3 separate regions of the Homo sapiens genome follow, and all the other regions are linked to region 1. Evidence: promoter capture Hi-C in 16 types of primary human blood cells and fetal thymus (Javierre and others, 2016). All regions are on one chromosome and are shown on one strand. Each heading gives the region's core, a stretch centred on a gene start or on the middle of the fragment in contact. The rest is flanking DNA. Distances are from core to core; before and after follow the strand shown.

Region 1 (3,663 bases), core at 369-2,868:
CTCAGCCCGCCTGCACCCAGGTAGAATAAACAGCCTTGTTGCTCACACAAACCCTGTTTGATGGTCTCTTCACACGGACGCGCCTGAAACAGTTTAACAGGGTTTTTCCTGCCCAGTCACAACAAAGTGATGTTATGCTGCAGGCTGAAGTTTACAGCTAATGCTGTTGAAGTCTAAAATCAGTTTTGGTTTGTTAGATTTGGGTGAGATGGCTAAGATTCTCAGAGAAAGAAGTCAAGTTTGGGGTGCATTTTTCAGACTTAAAAATTTAGCAGTAGCCCTTGCAGTTTTTCCAATAGAAGTGATTTAAGAATGTTTTCAGGAAATTTAAAACAACAGTGAGAAGCGTGTATGGAGAGTTGAACTACACTCCAGACTTGGCTATAGGAAAGCACGAATGCTGCTATTGTATTGCACCTTGGAAAAGAGAACAAAGGAATATTTTCGGACAATTTTAACATGTCACATATGAAAAGCTAAACGGAATCTGTCAACACCTTGTACGTTATTACAGGCTGTGATTTTAAAAAAACAATCCTTACTAATACATACATAGTTGCTGCTAGCAATATAGTGTTGGGAGTAAAAACACGAAAATGAGAGTTCAGGACAATATCCCAACTCTGAGCAGATTTTTTTAAGTAGTAACATCTAAAATTAAACCATATTATGTAATATTTATTTCTTTTCCACAGTCTCTTCTCATGCCTCGTTCACATTAGCTAATTAAAAGTCCCCTGAGTATCATCATAACCCGATTTACAGATGAAGGCACGGTTGCAATGAGCTATCACCCTCTTCTGAATGAGACAGTACAGTGTGAAGGATAGCAAAACTCCACTCCCATCCTCTTAGGGCTCTGGCTGGACCAGCAAATTAAATTAATGTAAAATGGATTAACAGGAGAAAGGTATATGCATTTATTTAACACAGGTTTTACGTGACACAGGTGCTCTCATAAGGTAATGAAAGCCCAAAAAAAGCAGTTAGCTACTTATATAATGAATTGGACAATTAGTAAAATGTAAAAATGCGCTAAAGCAAAGGGATTTAGGCTAGAATATATAACTGTGTAGAGAAGCGCCCAGCAAGGGCTAGTGCAAGGTTTGTACAGAATTCTCTTGGCCTCAGCCTCCTATCCTTGAGAAGAATGTTGCTTTTTTTAAACTACAGTGAGAACATCTTTCATATGAGAATTTCACCTACTGCTTCTAAGAAACAGGTCAGCTTTCAAGAAAACATAAGGCCAGAGTGATCTTTTCACGCCTGCTCTTTTAAGTACCTTTGAATAGTCAATATGTCTTCAAGCACTTGAAAGACTTAAAAAGTTTACCACTCCGGCATATTAGTGAAAGCCCTTAATATAAGCCCTTATTAAAATTCTCAGTCGAGGGTATAAATTCAGATTCAAATAGTAGTGTCGTAAACGGGAGGGAAAAACTAAAGGGATTAAAAAGTGAAACTATTGTGTTCTCCCTCGCAGTCCTTAGGTCACTGCCCCTCGAGGGGCGGAGCAAAAAGTGAGGCAGCAACGCCTCCTTATCCTCGCTCCCGCTTTCAGTTCTCAATAAGGTCCGATGTTCGTGTATAAATGCTCGTGGCTTGCTTTCTTTTCGCGTACCTGGTTTTTGTTGTCAGCTGGTTAGACATGTCTGGTCGCGGCAAAGGCGGTAAAGGTTTGGGTAAGGGAGGTGCCAAGCGTCACCGAAAAGTGCTGCGGGATAACATCCAAGGCATCACCAAACCGGCCATTCGGCGCCTTGCTAGGCGTGGTGGGGTTAAGCGAATTTCCGGTTTGATTTATGAGGAGACTCGTGGCGTTCTCAAGGTGTTTCTGGAGAACGTGATCCGGGACGCCGTGACCTACACGGAGCACGCCAAGCGCAAGACTGTCACTGCCATGGATGTGGTTTACGCGCTCAAGCGTCAAGGACGCACTCTGTACGGCTTCGGCGGTTAATCTTTTCGTCAGTTTTCTTCCAATGGCCCTTTTCAGGGCCGCCCACTCCCTCTCAGAAAGAGCTGTGATTGTATTCTTTCGGATGGTAACATCTCAATGGCTTTACTCGGCTATTCTGCCTAGTATGTAGAACTATTATAAACCAGTTGGGAGAGACCAGGTTGTTTGGTCTGAGTGGCTGCTAAAGCAGAAATCAGCTAAGTAAACGAGGTCTCCGAGATAAGTGAGCTATAAACTTCAATGCTATAGTTTTGACATGTCAAGCAACTTAACGTGCAGCGCGAGTCCGATAAATGAGTAGCTCAGCTTTTTAGTTTTAAAAACGAGTTGTGCGTTATTTGTACGAGAGCCTAAGATGCTAGCTGCCTGGAACTGAGTAGGTGGATTAAAATGGGTGTCAGGTCTGTTTTCCCAGGCGTATCTGACTTAACGTCAGCAAAAGCTGTACTTTTAGCTTCCCTGGTAACACCTGCCGTCCTTAACCGCCCCCTGCCGGTAGCGCCAGAAGCCTTTACTTCCATTTCTAGTTGAGCTTGGCGTCCTGCTGAGTGACGTCACCTCCCCCTTCTCTGGAGTAGGACTGGCGGTTAAAGCTGCTTTGCTATTTTCAGTCCTCAGGCTGGAGGCTCCCCTAAGCAGGCTGCCTACGCAGTTCGTAAATTCCCACTTAGTAGACTAAGGGAGTCTGTTTTATAAATAAGGACTCAAATTTCTTCTGACTCCGAGGTCCGTGGCAGCAGCTATAAGATGGAAGCCCCCTCTGATGTAAGATTCTCAGATGACTTGCATCTTCACTGTACCTGTCAACCCAATAGTCTTCTATTCCTGCCTTAAATTGTAAATTCCAAAACTGATTTAATTGTGAAAGTTTCAAACTGTACGACCTAGGAAGTGTCAAAGTTAGGTGACCAGATTTTTAGAAGTCAGCCAAATATTCAGCATCTTTGATTTAGTAACAAATATATTGATGGCTACTTCAGCAAAAAAAATCAACTTTGTTTTCTGGTTACTTTGCTAACAAGCTTCTCCTGACAGGAGGATATAGTGAATAGGCAGTTGAATAAGTGAGTTCGGGTGAGAGGTCTGAGCTGGAGATAAAAATGTGTGAGTCATCAGCAGATAAATAAATGCTGAGACCAGATGAGATGGCTAAAAACTGAAACATAATGTAGTGCAGCATTGTTTGTAATAGTAAATGAGTGGCAACTGTAAAGTTTTCATCAGAAAGGACTAGAGTGATCTATACATCCATAAAATAGAGTATTTCTCTACACAGCCCTACTAAAGAATGAGAAAGCTGTACTCCACTACATACTCTGGTGTACTCTGGCTCAGTTCTTGGACTCCTCTTTTCTTGGCTAACTCAACTGGCCTCACCACTTACATGCTCTGTGCTCTGTCAAATAGTTTGTTCAACAGAACACCACGGCCTAGCTGTAAGTGCCACGTTAACTTCTAGCAATGCCAAAGCCTGTGATAGTGGCAGCTTCGGGCTGTTTCTCATTCCCGGGATGCCTAACCACCTCTCCAAATTCTATCAGTTTGCTTCCACCCACTTCAAGCTTCAGAACGAAACATAGAGCTTAAGAAATATAGGCCCGGCAAGGTGGCTCACGCCTGTAATCCCGGCACTTTGGAAAGCTGAGCCTGGTGGATCACCTGGGGTCAGGGGTTCGAGACCAGCCTGGCCAATATTGTGAAAC
Region 2 (3,663 bases), core at 319-2,818, 340 kb before region 1:
AAGGTCTGCAGATGGAGGTGGGGAGAGATGTAGAGGAAGCAAGGGAACAGAGGTCTGTGCAGCTGGTCATGCTCCACCCCTGCCTGGATCTTGCATCCACCATCAGACTAAACATTATATTTCACCACATCTTCTGCTCCTCGAAACTGCTCTTTATTCTCCTAAGGAGAAGGAGGTATTATTAAGCTAAGCTAAAAATTTCTCTGCTGTCCTCAGAGGGAGAACTTTTATTTTTTAGGTTATTTATTATTCATTCTTTCTACTATAGACAATTTTGCCAAAGAAAAAAATATAAAGGAATAAAACCTTAAATACTCTGTAGTTATATACTTTGCTAATGGAAGTGGAAATGTTTCTGGAAGCATTTGGCCATGTACACATGGCAAGTGCCTTTAAAATGTTGTATTATTTGCCCCCAAAATTCCAACTATAAAAGTTAGTGTTGAAGAAAAAAATTTAGAGATTGATGCAAATATTTATGGATAAGGCTGTTCAATCTAGTAAAATCTACAGTAACAAAATGTAGAAACTGAAAAATCCAAAATAAAGAGTTTTAAAAATAATTCGGGTTTTTTATTTGTTTGTTTGTTCTTTTTTCTTCTTTAGGAGCGGCTTTCTGAGTCAGAGTAGGCTCACAGAGACTCCCAATAATTATATATTCATACAATGTAGTAGCTTGTAACCATGGGAAATCATGCTTTAGGTTTTGGGGAAATGATGAATGGAAAGAAAACCAAGTACTATCCCTAAAAGATACCAAAAATGGTTTAATATAAGGATCCAGTGTTATTAAAATTATAAAGAATTTCACTTAATTAAAATTATGATTCCTAATGGTTACATGGAACATGTTTTATGACTGAACCATGCATTGTTTGTCTATTCCCCACCTGTTGAATATGTATGTTGGTTCAGATTTTACTATATTATAAATACTTCTGTAATAAACACATTTACATATAAATCTATGAGGCACATCTCTTTTTTCTTCTTCTTCTTCAGAATTTCTCAGAATAGATGCCTTGAGTTGGCCAGAACAGATTTTAAGGGTTTTTTGTTTGTTTGTTTGTTTGCCCTTTTCTGACCACAATACGTTAAGAACATGCAGTTGGAATATTTCTTCATTCATGTTGTCTCCCTTTCCTTCCACTAAATCCCAACCTCTGCAGTTCCTTATACTTTGCAGTACTTCTCCCGTCTTCCCACGTGCCCATATGTGCATGTGCGAGTGTGCACATGTACACATGTACACACACACACACACACACACACACACACACACACACACACAGGCACTGCACCCCTTTCTCTGGGAGAGTACTCTCCCTGCATGCCCACTCACCACTCTCAGCGATTCAGCCCCGCTCCTCCCATGCGTTGTAGCCCAGGCTCTAATCAATTTCCTGCACTTACCCCTTGGTATTCCCATTGGAGAATCAGAGCCCACAGAATAAAGACGGTCAATCAATAATTCTCCATTCTTTCTATTATGGCTTAGCCTCTCATCCGGAAGAAAGGAAAAAGAGAAAGCAAATATTGTCTTCTCACCATGAGAAACAGTAAGAGTCGCTCTTTGGAAGAATTAGTTTTTTGATTGGCTCAGAGGTGATGTTTCTCATCAGTTGCTGGGCAGAAACCACTGAGGAACGTTGAAATGAAAACTGAAAGTACATTGAATTGTACACGTTGAGGAAAAACTCCAGCCCTACCTCCCTTAGTGTTTGTGTTTCTGTGTTTATCTATTTGAATCATTCTTGTGCGTGGATGTATATAAGTATTTCTTTATATTCACCTGTCTCGTGTCTTTTACATGGTAATAGAAATATTAGCAGAATGGAGTAGGAAAGTAAAAAAATTTAATGTGCAAAGAGAGGAAGATGTGCACTAATTAAGATGCTTCTGTGGCAGTTTGCTTGCATGTAGATAGGTACGTAGAAGAGGAGGATCTTTTTTACAGAGCCTAATAAAGGTATGAATGGAAAGAAAATGAGACAAACTGCACCTCTTTAAGAACTTCTGGCATTTAGGCTTAGGATATGGTATCAAATAATATAATTTTTCTGATTTCCAGAGGCAGTGCTGCTTGACATTGTTTTACCTTTCCCAGGAAATTCTTACTGCAGATCTTTCTGAGCATCTTCATTCACCCTCAGCTCCTGGTTTGTGCTATATTGTATTTTCTTGGGTATTTGTTTCTCACGCTGCCAGTGGAGTACATATTCTCTGAAGCTAGACACTCCATAGGCTGTGGTCTCTGTAAGGCTCGTTTCCTGTACACCATCTCTGTAAGGAGTTTATGGGACAATCTTGTTCTCCCTGTGGCTTACGACCTCAAAACACACTTTTTTGGGCTGCAAGCCAGAAATCTCCTAGAGCTAATATGTGACTGGAGCTGATGGGATTTGATTATATTGCAACAGTTTGAATTTAGGCTGTGTGGTATCTGCTTGAGATGGCTGGTTGCTTCTGCAGCGTGCATGCCCCCTTCTTCTTAGTGACAAGGCCTAATTTTCTGGGGTACTGCATCCTGCTCTTCCCCCTTGAAGATAGGGCAGGCCAAGGGACTAAGTTGGAGCCAGCGGTTTGTAGGTGAAAGTTGTGGGCTTGTACTTCTCCCAGAAATCCTTCAAAGGGAGGCCAAAATAGCTGGGAGTGTGAGGGTACACTCTCCCTTCTTCCTTCTTCCTCTTGCCTAGAACATGGACTTTGGACCCGGAGGTGCAGTAGCCCACCCTGGGACCATGAGGCAGCCTTGAGGTTGGAAGCCACACACTGGGACAGCAGAGAATGAAGTCAGAAGCAGGCTGGGGCATGAATGACATATCTGAGGTGCCAGATCAGCCCTGGACTGTCACCATCTAAATTTATTTAAAAAATTTTTTCTTTTAAAATATTTTATTATATATTAGTACTCAGGGTAAATTTCCAAATAAGTTTGTTTTTCATGAAAGGAAAACAAATCCTTGTTTTATTTAAGCCAGTGGTACTTCTGGTCTCTGTTATCAACAGAAAAACACAATTTTTCCCTCCCCCTTCCCCCTCCCCAACAGTTTATTATAAAACTTCTAAAACATATAGCAAAGGTGAAAGAATTTCAGTAAATTCCAATATATCTACCATGTAGATTGTATAATTAATATTTTAGTTTCTTACTTTATTATAAATCCATCCTGCTGTTCACCCCTATTCATCCATCAATATTTGTTTATTTGTTCATTTGTTTATTTTTAAATTCAGACTCTATCAGAAGCTGTGCTGCTTGAGATCGTATTAGTAAGAATGAACATCCCACCTTTGCCTGGAGGGTCCAAGTCACTTTGACACAAAGAAGCAGCCAATGTGCTAAGCTTCAGATTAGGAGTTTCTGAGCCCAACTCTTCATATCTCTGAACTTTGTAGTTTCCAAACTATGAGACCCCTAAGTTCATTTCTCACTCAATGTCTTTGTTTCTTCAGCTATGGGTAGGGATGTGACCTGCTTCTTAAGTTGTTTGGGGAGAACCTAGCACAGCACCTGCACATATTAACTCTTTATGAATGTCATTATTTTCCATTATGAAAGGTTCGGTATCAGCTGGTGCCTGTTGTGGAGTTGGAGTTTTAGTTTGAAGGTGAAGAGAAAATCTTTTTTAAAAATGGCATGAGAAAATGTGTACATTGGAA
Region 3 (3,663 bases), core at 421-2,920, 300 kb before region 1:
CTGCCAGCCCCCGCGTGAATTCGTTAACGGAAACACTGGTTGTGACCTGCAGTGAACTTTGGAAACGAATTTAAAACTCACCTTGATCAGAGTTCCTTAATGAGGAGTTGGGAGAGGAAGGATCCTCATTATTCCCTCTTCGCTACCTCCTCTCTACAACCCCATTCCAAAGCGACTGACCTTCAACAGAATGTATTTCTATAAAGATAAAAACAACGAAACTCCCAAGACGTCTATATTTGGAATATACAGGGAAAACTAGGTAAGAAACGGAATGAAATATAAACAAGAACAGGTGAAAATGAAGCAATTCAGAGGCAGAGAAAATCAGTGATTGGGCGGACAGCAATTTTACCGAGAGGGAAGCAGCTAGGCACTATTTTGTATCTGTTAATAGCTGCCTGGTCTTCACCAGTACCGAAATTATTTTCATGAATCAGATTGACAGGTAAATAAAACGTAGGTGTCCCGGAGACCTCGTGGCGCAACGGTAGCGCGTCTGACTCCAGATCAGAAGGTTGCGTGTTCAAATCACGTCGGGGTCAACAGTTTTTAGCTCGCTGGCTCAGATAACTGTATGGCGGGGAGTACATTACATATTACAGGGGGAAAAAAGTTGCTTTTCCTGCTTCTCTTAGGCACTTGTATACTCAGTTACTTTAGCCTCCTCAAAACTACCCCCTTCTCTTTTTTTAGTAGGAAGATATATACAGGAATATGTTATGGTATTTTGGGGCTTATTTCCGGGTTTATAGAGACGTTTTCACTCTTTTATTGCAAACATTCTGAATTATACTCTTCAGCAACTCATCCCTATTGTTAAACCCTCCTGGACTTCTCTCCATACTCACTCCCACGCCCGCGGCCTTATCTTTTCATCCATGTCTGTCTCTCCAACCTTCAGAAGCTTAGCAGATCTTCGCAGAGACGTAGTCTGGTTTGAGTGGATGACCTAAGCTTACCTGCTTCATATTTGGATCAGCTGTTCCAGGCTAAAGCGATTCCATTGAACTTCCCTGGATCTCTGCGATTTCCTCAACCCTCCCTGCAAATCACGGAAGAAGTCACTTGATTTCCAGAGGCAGAAAACCTGAATGCAGTTACTTTCTCAAATTCATACAGGGAATGAACCATTACATCAGAGAAGGCTAGCTATTCCGTGAACCCCCTTATAGTATTATCTGAAAATGTGCATGAATGTGCCGTTTTTTTCCCCACATGTGGCTCAAGACCCCCTACAGATTATGAATTAGCAAATTACAACATGGAAAAAAGGAAAAGTACGTTTATTTCTTCAGAAGTGTTTAAATTTTTATAACTTACAATGACTTTAAAACATGACATTTGAAATATTAGCAGATTTTCTCTTATGTATTTACTGTACACATTCACACAATACACAGTGACAAACATTACATCGGAGAAGTGTACCTAAAATAACCTTTTTCCTATTTCTTATTAACTCTTTTCTTAGTAGTAGTCTAAGCCTATGGCCATATTACGAACAGATTACTGCTCTGGAAAAAAAAAAAAGAGAGAAGACATAATTTTGAGATTTGGAAACTTGACACGCTAGAAAAAAGGTGACTATTAACTCTGGGACCTGTGACTCGCGTAGCAGAGTGGCGCAGCGGAAGCGTGCTGGGCCCATAACCCAGAGGTCGATGGATCGAAACCATCCTCTGCTAGGGAGCGTTTTGTGGATTTGTTTTTCCCCCTTCCAAAAATAGATCTACCTCATAGGAGGAGGAAATTGGTATAATTGTCATGGACACCGTAAGGGAACTTATTTTGATTTGCACCTCTCTCAGAGATCTATATCTCTGGTTGCAATACATTACTATCCTAATTAGATTAAAAATAACAAAAGCAGTAGTTTTAGCTTTGATTGTTTGAACAGTTAATAGATACCATGCACTATTCCAAGTTCTGAATCATTTATTCCTCGCAATTCTACGAAGTAAATACTTGCTATTACTCTTACTTTACAAATGAGACAAATTGGGGTTTGTCTGCAAGTTGGGGTTTGCAGAGGTTAACTAACTTGCCCAAAGTCATGCAGCTAGTAAATGGTAGAGCAAAGATAAAACTCTAAACCGCCGTTCTGCATAATTACAAACACTAATATTTACAGCAAACTTCAAAAGTTATTTCAGCTATTCCTTCCGAGTTTTATTAGTAGGACATGAACTCACCTAGTATTATTAAATCCCTAGTAAAATGAGAGGTACCATATGTGACATATAGTAACATGTCCAGATTTGAGCAGGCTGTAGGTGACACTTTTTTTCCTGTTCTTATTTTTCTGTTTACTCAAACTAATACAGATGCATAAGGAGACATGTTTAAAGTAGGATGAAATCTACAGACTGTGCAAAGCTTTTGAACTTTTGGAGAAATGTTTAGACAACTGACGAAATGCTTGGGGTTGAATTAATGAAAAGTGTCTAGAAGCTTAAGCAGTAAAACAACAAGAAAAGACAGTTATGTACTAATGCCGGGGAAAAATAAAAATTGCAAGGAAAGGAAAACTTAACAATGTATTTCTTTGCCCACTTGTTGAATTATGTTTATAAAGTTGTCATATTTTAAGCTACAAATATTAAAGTATCATGTATTGTGCTATAACCATATGAGAAGACTTAGAAAGGGAGCATGTGTGTGTCGGGGGTCCTGGGGTGTGAAGAAGAAAGTGAACCAGTTACTCCTCTTATATAAAGTCAACAGAAGGTCCATACAAACATATTATTTAGAGATATGTAGGTAAATAATTTTAAAATAAGCTATTTAAATGTTTAAAAAGTAGGCTTAACCACTCAGCCACGACTATAGGTGCCAAAAGTTTTCTTAAACGTCGTACATGTTATTATATGTCACATATTGTACCTCTCGCTTTACCAGGAATTTAATAGCTGAGTTCACGTCCTGCCAACAAAACTTAGAAGGAATCAACAAACTTCAAGTTCAGGCGCATATGTGGTAAGCTGAGAATGTTCTTTGGGTGTTTTCTATAATGCAAATCAGGAATATGTTTCAATAACTTTAAAAATTGCTAGAGGACAGGGAGCAGAGAAGAGACTTGATTTTTGTTTCAAGTGATTCTTGAAATTATGAGTATGCGAAAAGGATAGAAAAGAAACCAAAATTGTTTGCTATCTAGAAATTTTCTGTTTGTGAATTCTCAATCGTAACTCTCACAGAATGACACAAGGTTTTCCCAAACGGACGTGGTGGCTCACGCCTGTAATCTAGCACTTTGGGAGGGCGAGGCGGGCTGATCACTTGAGATCAGGAGTTCCAGACCAGCCTGGCCAACATGGCGAAACCTCCTCTCTATTAAAAATACAAAAATAATTAGCTGGGTGTCGTGGCACATGCCTGTAATCCCAGCTACTCTGGAGGCTGAGGCTAGGAGAATCGCTTGAACTCAGGAAGCAGAGGTTGCGGTGAGCTGAGATCGCGCCACTGCTCTGCAGCCTGGGCGACACAGTGATACATCTCAAAAAAAGAAAAAAAAATTCCCCTGTATTAAGTTTTATCAAGCAATGTGAAAATTGGTCAGTTCTGAAACTTATCAATTTAGTGATGTGATTTAAAAAAAAAAAACTCTTATGTATGTAAAACAATAGTGAACTGAAGCTGGAGTCTATATTATAAAAATTT

Evidence for each region. The method cuts DNA at HindIII sites, captures the fragments that hold promoters and counts their contacts. A CHiCAGO score of 5 or more calls a contact.
Region 2: the fragment with the promoter of BTN3A2 here is called in contact with the fragment with the promoter of H4C2 in region 1 in 1 of 17 cell types (neutrophils); the score reaches 9.6 in neutrophils.
Region 3: a fragment that was not itself captured here is called in contact with the fragment with the promoter of H4C2 in region 1 in 1 of 17 cell types (neutrophils); the score reaches 5.9 in neutrophils.

The regions. Positions count from the first base shown.
Region 1 is chr6:26,025,238-26,028,900 of GRCh38, reverse strand. It overlaps H4C2 (H4 clustered histone 2), which reads left to right and starts at 1,618. Exons shown (of 1, transcript NM_003544.3): 1 at 1,618-2,005. The coding sequence starts at 1,649. The coding sequence ends at 1,960. RefSeq lists enhancers at 1-378, 379-963, 964-1,549, 1,526-1,845, 1,866-1,925 and 2 more. The HindIII fragment of the contact is 5,368 bases long and covers 1-2,984 here.
Region 2 is chr6:26,363,103-26,366,765 of GRCh38, reverse strand. BTN3A2 (butyrophilin subfamily 3 member A2) reads right to left here and starts at 1,568. Exons shown (of 11, transcript NM_007047.5): 1 at 1,414-1,568. RefSeq lists an enhancer at 1,561-1,610. The HindIII fragment of the contact is 4,055 bases long and covers 1-3,349 here.
Region 3 is chr6:26,328,326-26,331,988 of GRCh38, reverse strand. It overlaps TRX-CAT1-4 (tRNA-iMet (anticodon CAT) 1-4), which reads left to right and starts at 1,617; the gene lies at 1,617-1,688. TRW-CCA3-2 (tRNA-Trp (anticodon CCA) 3-2) reads left to right here and starts at 474; the gene lies at 474-545. LOC101928743 (a long non-coding RNA gene) reads left to right here and starts at 31. Exons shown (of 3, transcript XR_241992.5): 1 at 31-262; 2 at 2,902-2,979. It overlaps LOC124901288 (a long non-coding RNA gene), which reads right to left and starts at 171. Exons shown (of 2, transcript XR_007059522.1): 1 at 82-171. RefSeq lists a silencer at 1-117. The HindIII fragment of the contact is 1,422 bases long and covers 960-2,381 here.